Linked DNA regions of Homo sapiens: region 1 is linked to region 2. Evidence: promoter capture Hi-C in 16 types of primary human blood cells and fetal thymus (Javierre and others, 2016). All regions are on one chromosome and are shown on one strand. The core of a region is centred on a gene start or on the middle of the fragment in contact, and the rest is flanking DNA. Distances in the headings are between cores, read along the strand shown.

The links. Contacts are between HindIII fragments. The CHiCAGO score rates a contact against its expected background, and 5 or more counts as called.
Region 1: a contact is called between a fragment that was not itself captured here and the fragment with the promoter of NUS1 in region 2, in 1 of 17 cell types (total B cells). The highest score is 6.1, in total B cells.

What each region holds. Positions count from the first base shown.
Region 1 is chr6:122,475,429-122,482,182 of GRCh38, reverse strand. It overlaps a transcript of PKIB not described here. Among named protein-coding and RNA genes, the nearest start is that of SERINC1, 7.0 kb to the right of the region's middle. The HindIII fragment of the contact is 283 bases long and covers 1,109-1,391 here.
Region 2 is chr6:117,671,902-117,677,887 of GRCh38, reverse strand. It overlaps NUS1 (NUS1 dehydrodolichyl diphosphate synthase subunit), which reads right to left and starts at 2,419. Exons shown (of 5, transcript NM_138459.5): 1 at 1,803-2,419. The coding sequence starts at 2,217. It overlaps LOC101927919 (a long non-coding RNA gene), which reads left to right and starts at 2,604. Exons shown (of 3, transcript NR_110854.1): 1 at 2,604-2,791; 2 at 3,053-3,241; 3 at 3,806-5,075. The HindIII fragment of the contact is 6,476 bases long and covers 1-5,715 here.

The sequences.
Region 1 (6,754 bases), core at 1-2,500, 4.8 Mb before region 2:
CAAGACCATCCTGGCTAACACGGTGAAACCCCGTCTCTACCAAAAATACAAAAAATTAGCCAGGCGAGGTGGCGGGCGCCTGTAGTCCCAGCTACTCGCGAGGCTGAGGCAGGAGAATGGCGTGAACCCCAGAGGGGCGGAGCCTGCAGTGAGCCGAGATCGCGCCACTGCATTCCAGCCTGGGCTACCGCGAGACTCCGCCTCAAAAAAAAAAAACAAAACTTACCTTTGCTGCTGTGTTCTGTGATGTCTCTTGATTTCAATATTGCGAGATTACAAAAACCCTGGGTGTTGATAACATAATTAGCATATTTTTGACACAGTTAACTACAGGTAAAATAGGAAGCCAAAGCAATATTTAAAAAAAATTTGAACTAATTTCTGACTTCAGAAAAGTTGCAAACACTGTACAAAATTTACTATATATCTTTCACCTCTATTCACCAAATATTAAAATTTTATCTTGTTTACTTTACACAATGTGTGTGTATGTACACACACAAACACACACACACATACATACTGTTTTGTAAACCGTTTGAGAATAAATTTCCAACATGATCCTTTTTACTCCCATATACTACAATGTACATTTTCAAAAATATAATACTTTTCTACATAACCACATTATAACAATCAAAAACAGAAAATCAGTTTTGATATGATACTGCTTTGTAATTCACAAGCCCCATTCAAATTTTGCTAATTGTCTCAATAATGTTCTTTACAGCAGTAACAGTAATTATTTATTAGTATTGTTATTTCTGCTCCAGTATCTAATCCATGATTACATGTGGCATTTAGTTGTCAAGTCTCTGGTTTCCTTTAATCTGGGCAGTTTCTTAGTCCTTTTCTTTCATGACCTAGACATTTTGAAAAGTACAGGCCATTTATGTTGCATAATGTCCCTTAATTTGGGTTTGTCTGATATTTCTTCATGATTTATTCCCGTTTATATGTTTTTGGCAAAAATGCCTCAGGAGTGATAGTGCTCACTCCTTAGTGCATTACATCAGAAGACACATGAAACCTATTTGTTCTATTACTGGTGATGTTAAAACTTTGATCTTTTGGATAAGGTGTCTGTCAGGTTTTCCACTGAAAAGCTTTCTTTTTAATTTTTTGTGGGCTTTTCTATACACTTATATAATCATGGGCTTGATTTGATGCAAGGAGCTTGACTAAGTGATGTCTTAAGATTTACTCAATTTAACTTCATTTTATGATATTTCTACATTAAGTTTTTTAAAAAGAACAAAAGATTATTTTTGTATCTCTGATTTTGTGGTATGTACAATATCACTTTATAATCAACACATATGCATGTCTATGATTAGTAATGATGTGGATTTTAGTTATCAGTGTGAAAATGAAAGCACACCTACTAAGCTTTAGAGAGTAACCTTTAAATTTAACAGAAAAGTATTTGTACAGTAAGAAACGGAGATGAACACCACAACCCACTAAAAATTGTTTGAAAAAAAATTCTTAGAAATATAAGGCAGGCATAGCCATCAAACAGATCAAAGGGAAGAGATAGAAATGGAGTAAATACTGTAGGCATATAAATAGAACATGACATTTTTCCAGGATCACTATTACTACATTTTCAAAAAATTTATTCCCTTTGGATTAAGTAAATAACTTGAATAGAAAAAGTACCTGAAGCATTATTTAAATAAATTGTAGTTGTTCTTTATCATTACTAACATTAAAATATTACATATGTATGCATCGATTACTCAAACATGCATAAAATCAGAATTGAAAATCAAAATAGTGCATTCGTTATTGGATATACTAAGTGTAGGTTAGCAATTTTATTAAAAAATTTGACTATAGGCCGGGCATGGTGGCTCAAGCCTGTAATCCCAGCACTTTGGGAGGCCGAGGCGGGTGTATCATGAGGTCAGGAGATCAAGACCATCCCAGCTAACACGGTGAAACCCCGTCTCTACTAAAAATACAAAAAACTAGCCGGGCGTGGTGGCGGGCGCCTGTAGTCCCAGCTACTCAGGAGGCTGAGGCAGGAGAATGACATGAACTTGTGAGGCGGAGCTTGCAGTGAGCCAAGATTGCACCACTGTACTCCAGCCTGGGTGACAGAGCGAGACTCCCTCTCAAGAAAAAAAAAAAAAAATTGACTATGGTTGCCACTACAAATCAAATAGAACTAACCTCACTTATTTCTACAAATATACTCATTGTTTTCTTTAATCTTTTTTTAACTTTCTATTATTTTTTCTATATACCTTTAAGCTCTGTTGGACCTTTTCACTGTTTATTCATGCCATGGGAAGCTCTTACAGTCAATACCGGCACTGGCATTGTAGACAGTGAAAAGCCAGAAACAGTATATGCTTTGAGAGAATGTGTCAAGTCTATCTATATACAAAAGAACTTAAAACTTTTGAGATTGCTACTAGAATATTCACGGCAATTTTGAGTGTCTCTGATGTTGGGTTTGGGGAGTGCCTGATATATAACTGCTCGCCAAAGGAAAATCTTTAAATAAAGCAGAGGGCAAAGAGAGATCACAGTCTAGTCAATGTGTCAACTTAATCTTAGCATTATATTAACAGCTAGGAAAGAGGGCAAAGAAAATAATGAGACTTCTGATGTCTAAGCACCCATGAGTAAATGCATTGTACTCTCATTTCTGTTTTGTGATATTTATCAAAACTATAGAACTGATCTGACTAAAAAGAAAATTTTGAGTTCTAATTGACAGAATTAAAACACATAGTCATAATACTACATGTTGTTTCCTAGGCCACTCAATTAGGATAAGGAACTTTTTTCCCCTTTGTTGATTCTTAGTGCCTCAAAACTCTATAAAGTATGAAGTACCTTTCTCAGGGCAGGATTAAGATATTAAGTTGCTTATTACTGCTTTAATGTGTCTGGGACAGAGCTTCTGAGAGTCTGCCTAGAGAAAGCAAGAAGCCCTGGAAAGGCTCTTAAAAATATTCTTGCAATTAGTCAAGATGGCCCAATAGGAACAGCTCTCTGCAGCATTCAGCAAGTTCAATGTAGAAGGTGGGTGATTTCTCCATTTCCAACTGAGGTACCCAGCTCATCTCATCGGGACTGATTAGACAGTGGGTGCAGCCACGAAGGGCAAGCAGAAGCAGGGTGGGGCATCACCTCACCCGGGAAGTGCAAGGGGTCGAGGAACTCCCTCTGGTAGCCAAGGGAAGCCGTGAGGGACTGTGCCATGAAGAATGGTGCATTCTAGCCCAGATACTATGCTTTTCCCACGGTCTTCACAACCCACTGACCAGGAGATTCCCTCCAGTGCCTACGCCACCAGGGCCCTGGGTTTCAAGCACAAAACTGGGTGGCTGTTTGGGCAGACACTGAGCTGGCTGCAGGAGTTTTTTTTGTTTTTTGTTTTCTTTCTCCAGATTTTAAGCATGTCTCTAAAACACTTTCTCCTATTGGCATTTAATCCATGGTTGTATTCATATAAATATCCAATGGGAAAAGTTCACTATTTTGGACTCCATTTGTATGTGAAAGCTACTTCTTAAAGGATATTTCCCCACCCCCCGCTGCCACATAATATGTTAAGTGACTCTAATTATGTTTTTTCTCTTACTAAAGACTACCATTTGGAATTGCTGAACAATGTGCAGTGTCCAGCCATGCCCGTATCAAAGCATACCATAGAACTGAACTATGGAGTACCCTCCCATGGCATCTAAACTGCTGGATGAGTATTGCTGGGAAGTGGAAATGTGCATAGCATTTGTATAAATGATGCTGGGAATGCTTTCTCCATGGCGGAGAAAATAGGTAGAGAGAATTCTGCTGTCAGCTCTACAACCACTGAGATGATTTTTAAAACTGGATGATTCCTAGAAAGACTGGATTCTGCCACAAAATACAAGTAAGTCAGGCCAGCTAAGGCAGAAAATTTCCTTCAGGAGATGTCGATTAAAAAAATGGCCTGTGGTTGGCTCATAAGCTTCATCTGACATTACATCTTTAAAAAGATAGGACTTTTCTGGAGGAAAGGGACAGACCCATAAGCAATAATGGAAACTAGTGGAAGCCAGCCTTCACTATAACAGGACTCTAGGTGGGAGCCTGCGAAAAATAATAGAACAAATGACACAGCCAGATGCTACCAAACAGCTAAGCCTAGGATTTCTGCAGGTGATGCAAAGCGGGTTACGGGATATGAAGACCTTAATACTAGAAAATATTAGGAAGCTTTATGGAGAAATTAAGACCTTACCAGTGACTTATCAGGTTGGTCCTGAAGGGGTGTCCATACTTTCTTGTCATCACTTTTGAAGTTAAAGCAAATCTTCAACAGGGTAAAAACTGTGAGGAAAAAGTACCCAAAGTTCTTAATCACTCAGTAGAAAGAGCTTTAGGTATGAATTTGCCAAAGTGTTTTACGCAATAATGGACAATACAGTCAGTGGAGTGAGGTGTAGAGAATTGGGTAAGAAGAAAAAATCACTGTCTGAAGTCGCTTGAGATCAGGCCACTTAAAATGTCAGGGCCTCTGGATATCATTCTATTCTTACAATTAATTCTGGAGGAAAGAAAGCAGCTAAGGCCATAGAAATTCAGGTGAATAAAAAAGAAATCAGGATAAATTGGCTAAAATAACATAATGGAATATATGGATTACTGGAAAATAAAGTCAAATCTGGCAAATTTCATATAGTATCATATAGTATAGTACTTTGATAGCCTAAATGATTATCAGAATATAACATTTATCCTTCTTACAAATCTCTCATATCTGATTTTTATATAAGAAATCAATTTAGGTTCAATACCTAAAGCAAATGCACAGGCTTAAAACCACTTTATCTGAAATATCTAAATAACTTATACAAAGAAAAATATGATTGCTTCCTTGTTTAGCTTGTATCACCTGGATAATTGCCTCGACTTTCTCCTTCAGCTTACAGACCTGCATTGTCCAATATAGGGACTACTGGACATTTGAAATATGCTGGTCCAAATGGAGATGTGCTCTTAATTATATAACACAACCAGATTCTGAAGACTTATATGAAAAATAATGTAAAACATTCTATTAAGAATTTTTATATTAATGTCATTGAAATATTTTGGATATAGAGTTCAATTAAATGCATCTTTAAAATTAATTTCATCCGTTTCTTTTAATACATCTACAAAAAATTTTAAATTACAAATGTGATTCACATTTCATTTCTATTGGAAGGTGCTGATTTAGACGTTGCCTTAATAACATGTTTAATAAGAATTCAAAAATCTGATGAGTGCCAAATCGAACTAGTTGATTCCTTTCTGTAGCACAAATAAATAACGTTTTGGGTGAATGAATGTGAAGAATTTCTTCAGTATATAATTTCATTATTTTATCAAGGTCAATACATCTGCCCTTGAAAAGTGAAATGTTTTAGAAATGTCATTTACACTTTTTCAAGAAGTCACTCCCTTCTCAATGATTATAAAATAGTACATTAAATATTAGACACATATTTGAATTTGCTATCCACTTTATTATTTACACAGTGAATATTTCCTTTTTTCCTGAATTTATGTATGTTCTGCCTGAAATAAACTTATTTTTGTAGACATCTATTTCACTGGTATAAACATATCTGCTTGTTATGGAATTATAGGCTTAGATTTCAGCAAAATAAGAAAATCTGTGTGGAAAGAATATTGTTCATTTGCTGTTTTAACATTAAGACCATAATTGAAGAGAGTTTTTGTACATTTGACACTGTATCTTAGTTTTGAATTATTTTCCAAAACTATCAATGTGTGTCTTAACAGATAAAAGCATGTCTTTAATCAGAATATGGTCTCTTCCAATTCTAAGTTTATACTGACCCCTATGGGTTACTGTGTCCTAATCTATTTTTGGCTTATCCTTTCAGAATATCTGTGAAATACTTAAACATGTTTACATTTAAGATATAACTAATTTAGGATAAAAGCCATAAAATACTTTTTATATTTTTGCTCTCCTTGGATTATATAACAAACTATGCACAAATTTTATTCATCCTTTAACTACTGTGGGGGGGCCAAGATGTTTCAGTCCTCATTATATTTAGTGTTGATGTACTAAGGACAAGAGAACTAAGCAGTATAATTTCTAATTTCCAGAAAAATATGACCTGATTATTTTCCTTAAAATCTGTTCCACTCTCACAATATTTCAGAGATATAGATCATTTATTAGGATAAAAAATAAAGTTTATACAGAGATTTGTGTAAAGGCAGGAAGGATTATGGGACCAAAGATGAGTCTAATTTTAGTCAACCTTGATGGAGACACACTGATTCTAGGTTACACTGGGAATTTTTAATGTGATATACATGATTCTAAACCATATCCTTATGGATTGATTATTTATTTTTACTTGTTTTTTTTGAGACAGAGTCTCACTCTGTCACCCAGGCTGGAGTGCAGTGGCGTGATCTCAGCTCACTGCAACCTCTGCCTCCCAGGTTCGAGCAATTCTCCTGCCTCGGCCTCTTGAGTAGCTGGGACTACAGACGCATGCCACCACACCGAGCTAATTTTTGTATTTTTAGTAGAGACAGGGTTTCACCATGTTGGCCAGGCTGCTCTCAAACTCCTGACCTCAGGTGATCCACCCACCTTAGGCTCCCAAAGTGCTGGGATTACAGGCGTGAGCCACCACACCCGGCCTATTTTTACTTTTATAGAGATGAAGTCTCACTATGTTGCCTAGGTTGGTCTCTAACTCCTGTGATCAAGCTATCC
Region 2 (5,986 bases), core at 1,170-3,669:
GTCCACTTTTGCTTCACCTATTTTTTTCCCCAAGCAAAACTGGTTGCATTGGTTTAGGCATGGATTGTGTCATCTCCTAACAGTCTCATGATTTCTATTGGTCTGCTGAGTTCTTTAGCAAGTTCCATAAATGTCAGTCTCTGAATATATCAAACTTTACCCTATAGGGCAAATCATCATTTGGTGATGACAGGCTACTGCGTCATCATGTTCCTTGCGGGCTGCAGGAAAGATGATAGGGCAATCAGAGATCAGCCTGTAAGCGTTACTGTCTGGCCTATGCCTTCCCTTTCTGACAAAACCCTGCACTTAAATTTACCAATCTGACAAAGATGTATGCCTCTCTAGAGCACACAGGTAATTTATTGAACAGAGAATAAAACTTTTGTTTTCTTCCCTTCATACCAATACTCTTAAATCATTCTTCTCACATCTTTAAAGAAATTCCAATGCTTTCAAGATCTGATTGAAAATCAAACCTGACATCCCAAACCTGAGTATTCCTCAACTTATCTCCTACCTATTCTTCAAGGTCCTGCTTAAATCCCACCTCCACTGCATGAACTTCTCAAGTTCCTTCATTCACAATTTCTCTCCTCTCTTCTCACAATAGTAATTTTACTCTCAACACTTCTTGTTATTAACCATGTCAAATATGTGAGTGTGTGCCTACCTCCTAACAAGCCTGAGAGTCCATGGAATTAAATGCAAGATTCCAAGGAATATGCCTAGCACAGTGCTTTAGGTTTGTAGCTACCCAATAAGTACTGAATTTTTGTACTTACAAAAACTCCCTATGGTGAAATTCATTCCCTCAATCAAAACATATGAGAGGACAATTCTATCAAGTACTGTGTTGGGCACTGATGATGAAGGATCACAAACCATCCCAGCCTTCCAAGACAGAAAGGGACCATTTTCTTTTCTGCCTATCCAATCTCTCACATATTTTTCATAAACCCAGTTCAAATACCACCTGACCCCCACCGCTCCCATTTGCAGTACCTATCACACAGCCCATGCCTAAGTCCTCTATAGCCTCACTGCGACTTAAGAACAGCGCCTGGAAGCTCTCTTAAAGAAACAGTGTGGTGTAACCAAAGGCAAAGATTGTGAAAAAGCACAGAATGGCTAAAATTCCAATATCCTCATTCCGATCTTTGTGGCCCCATTACGATCTTGTGGCCTTGGGCAAATCAGTTAATGTTTTTAAACCTTGGCAAGGGTATACAAATACCATCTACATTACTGCAGTATTATAACGAATAAGAGATTTTTTATTTATTTTTATTTATTTATTTACTTATTTGAGACAGAGTTTCGCTCTTGTTGCCCAGGCTGGAGTGCAGTGGCGCGATCTCGGCTCACCACAACCTCCGCCTCCCGGGTTCCAGCGATTCTCCTGCCTCAGCCTCCCTAGTAGCTGGGATTACAGGCATATGCCACCACGCCCGACTAAACTTGTATTTTTAGTAGAAACGGGGTTTCTCCATGTTAGTCAGGCTGGTCTCGAACTCCCGACCTCAGGTGATCCGTCCGCCTCGGCCTCCCAAAGTGCTGGGATTACAGGCATGAGCCACCGCGCCCGGCCAAGGGATATTTTTAAAATGTTAAAAAGCTACTGAGTCAAATCCAGAGAATTAGTAGGTGTTCAATAAAGCTGATCTCCCTTCCTCGAAAGCGCTAGCGCTGTGATTTGCAGAGAGGCCGCGGCAACTCGTGCCATGGGCACCACCCGCCAGACCAGCGGTCTAGCGGTCCAAGACGCCTCGGCCACCCCCCACCACCGCACCGGGCCTCACCTTGGTGGTCGTAGACGCTAATGTAGGAGATGCCCACGGCCATACACCACACCACGAGGCTCGCGATGTCCGAGAAGCTGGGTTCCTGCTCCACCTCGGTGATCACCAGGCCCATATGCACAGGCAGCTTCTCCAAGGAACGACCGTCCGCGCGCCAGCGCATCCGGTGGTGTGCGGCTGCCAGGCACGACCCCCCGCGCGGGTGCCGGTGGTGACGGCGGTTCCTGCCGACTGCCGGGGGCTTGCGGAGCGTGAAGCCGAGCGGCGCTAGGACCGCGGCAGAGGCGGCGCGGCAGCAGCGCCGCCAGATCCAGTTCCAGGTGCCGAACCGAACGCGGAGCCAGGAGGTGAGCGTGCGGTGCAGACAGAGCAGCGCGTGCAGCACCCGCCACACCAGCTCGTACAGCCCCGTCATACTCTTGTGGCCCTCAGACACCCCCTCTCCCTCCCGCCCACTCCCGCAGCGCGACGGCTTTTTATCCGCCCCTGCGGCCGGCGCGGGCCATCGCTCCGCGTCCCCCCGCCCCCCGAGCCCGAACCCCTTTCCACTGCCAACACCTCACCTCGCCCCCGCCGCCATCTTCCTCCTCCCTTGGCAGCCCCGCCCCCAGTAGTACATGGACAGTTCCGATTGGCCAGCGTGGAATTCTGACGCGGCTTCTGGGTCCGAGAACGTGGCCCGTTCCGGCGCAGTGAGGGAAGGCGCACGCCTGCGAACTAGCCGGGCCGATACCGCGGGCGCCCCCTGGTCGCGTGGAGGGCGATGAGCGAACGACCCGGGACTTGTCTGAATGGGACCCCAGCAAGGCACACGTGGTCTTCAATGCGATGGGCGCTTCCAGGGGACCCGGCGTCCCTTGGGTCCAGGAAGTCTTATACTGTCTCCTCTCACGGCCCCGACAGAAACGGTTTCTGAGGAGTAGAAGTGTCCTAAGTGGATTGGAAATTACAAATGCCGGAAAGAACCTAGGGATGGAAAGCAGCCCTCAGTAAGTGTTGATGCTGGGAATCCACCAGGGTTTCCAAAAGTGTCCTCAAAGGCTGGAGTGATCCTGCTACTGTCCTTTATTCAGCCTCCCGGCTGAGGCTGGGAGCGAGGCTCTTTAGCCATGTTCCTGAAACACCCCTCTACCCATGTCATTCTCATCTAAGGTATCCTTTCCTGGCTGTACATTGCTTAATAGAGGCTCTACAGCTTGGCAGTCCAGTCACTTAATTCTTTTTTTTTTTTTTTTTTTTTATTCGGCAAGACTTTGACCAACCGCCGTGGGTTAGGTTTACAGTGGGGAAAAAAAATAGAAATTGTGCCTGACTTCAATGACCGCCACTATTTGAAGCAAACTGCCCATCCAAGCCTTATCATCCCCTTTAACACCCTAATGTTTCTGTCCATGTGGACTTCGACGTGGTCCTCTAGAATGGTTTTGTACTTCCCCGCGGTAAGTCTGTACTGTCTTTGCCCTTTTTGTTCAAGCTCTTCTCCTGAATTCCTGATTCCCGACTTGGTATTGCCGACATTCCAACCCATTTCTCAAGGTTTATCCTACATGCTACATCCTCTATCATCATATATATGTGTGTGTGCAACAATAATATTTATATTATTTGCATTTATATTTATATAAGTATATATATAAAGATTAGGGAGGTATTACAAAAATGCAACTGTACACATACACACGTATACACACATATTTACACACGTGTGTGTGTGTAAACAGTTGCGTTTTTGTAATACCTACCTATTCTTTGTTCGCTAAAGCCTCTTTTTCCCCCTGGGAAACATCTGTTCACGTCTTGGCTATGTGACTTAATTTTTCTAACATTGTCACTTTTTCAACTAGTCTCATTTTGGTTTCTAAGACTCATTTAACTTTACTTTAAAAGTTGAATCTCATGTCCATCTCCCTTTCGCAGTGCAATTTTCCTCCCTTTGGCAGTGCAGCCTGAAGAACTGAGGGCTGGGCACCAGGCACACCCTTCACACACTTCTTTCTCTCCAGGTCTCCTCTGCGGTAGCTCCTCTGATGATGGACAAAGAAGGAGAGGCGAAAGGCCATGATCAGGGAAGCCTACAGTCTTCTTCCTCACTGCCCATTGCTGTAGTTTATGCAGCTACATGATGCTTGTTAAGGAAGCTCCCTAGACACCAGTGTCCCATTGAGATTTGGCCACGTATTCTGCAGACCCCACCCCACCCCCCATGCCGACTATGTTGCCACATTTCTCTACCGTACTCATTTCTTTGCCCCAATGTCTATCCGTTCTGACAAGATTAAAGACATCAATCTCATGTTCCCGTGGCCTGCTCTCAGGTGTGCAGGCACAAACAGGCTCTATCTTCTGTATTTCTTTTTTCCTTTTTTTTTGAAACGGAGTCTCGCTCAGTCGCCCAGGCTGGAGGGCAGTGGTGCGATCTCAGCTCACTGCAGGCTCCGCCTCCCGGGTTCACGCCGTTCTCCTGCCTCAGCCTCCCGAATAGCTGGGACTACAGGTGCCCGCCACTACGCCCGGCTAATTTTTTGTGTGTTTTTAGTAGAGGCGGGGTTTCACCATGTTGGTCTTGAACTCCTGACCTCAGGTGATCCGCCCGCCTTGGCCTCCCAAAGTGCTGGGATTACAGGCGTGAGCCACTGCGTCCGGCCCCTGTATTTCTTTGAATTGCAAACTTAAGCAAAAGGATTCTAGCCACATGTCCATCTGACACACTCACATGCAGATCCTGGCGTCTCTCCCCAGACATTTGCTTGCTTTCCTCCTAGAGTTTCCTCCTAGTAGCAGGTCCCCTAGCTCCCAGGATGTTCAGCCTCCTAAAGAGTGGTGGGGCGGCGGTACCCACTTTTCTTCTCTGTCAGCTGTCAGTAGGCTAGGGATGGAGGGTCTCATACAGAACAGTTCTCTGGGGGCCTTGAACCAACACAGTTCTTCCCCTTTTCTCACTTGTAGTTCTCGAGAATAACTGTAGAATGTGTTGGAATGCAATATACTATAGACAAGGAGGAACTGACCAGAACAGCCCAGGCTCTGTTCCAGTCTCTTCTAGAAATAGGATGTCCTTCAACTAGTACTAGCCCAGCACATCCCATTGCCCTGTAGTAAAAACTGAGAGCAGACTGCTTTCTGGGGTCCCTTAGTTGCGGTGCAAGCAGTGCACGAGCAGATGAGACGCCATCCTCCCTAAGAAGTTTTCCTCGGCCTTGGGAGATATGGTCATTATGACATGCTTCTGTTGTCCCTTGCTGCCTGTCTGTAAGTAATAAACCCACTTCGTGTAACTTGTGTGTGAGTGTTCTGCGTCACTGGACACTGGATATAGGAAAAGTGCAGTCCAAAATGCAGTGGGCTGAACCGGTAACCAGTGCACAGTGAACCTGCTTTGCATCTGGTGGTTGCTGTCAACTTCAGGCTGCTTCACTGTTCTTAGAAGGAGGTGGACTCAGTGCCTTTTGTTCTCAGCCACAATTCTGGAATAACAGGAAAGCCACACTGGATGTCTTGCTCTGGACATACTTGGAATCTTAAGTTTATGGAGTTCTCTCTCTTCTAAAGATTTTCTTCTTTTGTCATTTCAAAAAAGCAGTAAATGTGGCACATTTAGGAACTTAGGGGTTCTGAATATAATGTTTGGATTTCTTAAATACCATTTAACCTTCCACCCCAAAATTTTATGAAGCACAGGAAAATACAGAAAGAGTTATCCAGCCTCAGACTCTTAAGCCCAAAACACTATGGGGATGGTATTTCATTTACTTTTCAGTTTACAAAATGCTTTACATTATCTTAATCCTTACGACCACTGCTACTTTTACTGTCTCCATAGTTTTACCTTTTCCAGAATGTTACACAGTTGGAATCACACAGTATGTAGCCTTTTCTTATTGCCTTATGTCACTTACTAATATGCATTTAAGCTTGTCCATGTCTTTTCATGATTTCATACCTCATTTCTTTTTAGTGCTGAATAATATCCCATTGCTGGATGTACCACATTCCATTGCTGATGTACCACAGAATTTATCTGTTCACCTACTGAAGGACAACTTGGTGGCTTCCAAGTTTTAGCAATTATAAATAAAACTGCTATAAATATCAATGTGCAGGTTTTGTGTAGATATAGGTTTTCAACTTATTTGGATAAGTACCAAGGAGAAGGCCAGGCATGGCTGACTCCTATAATCCCAGCA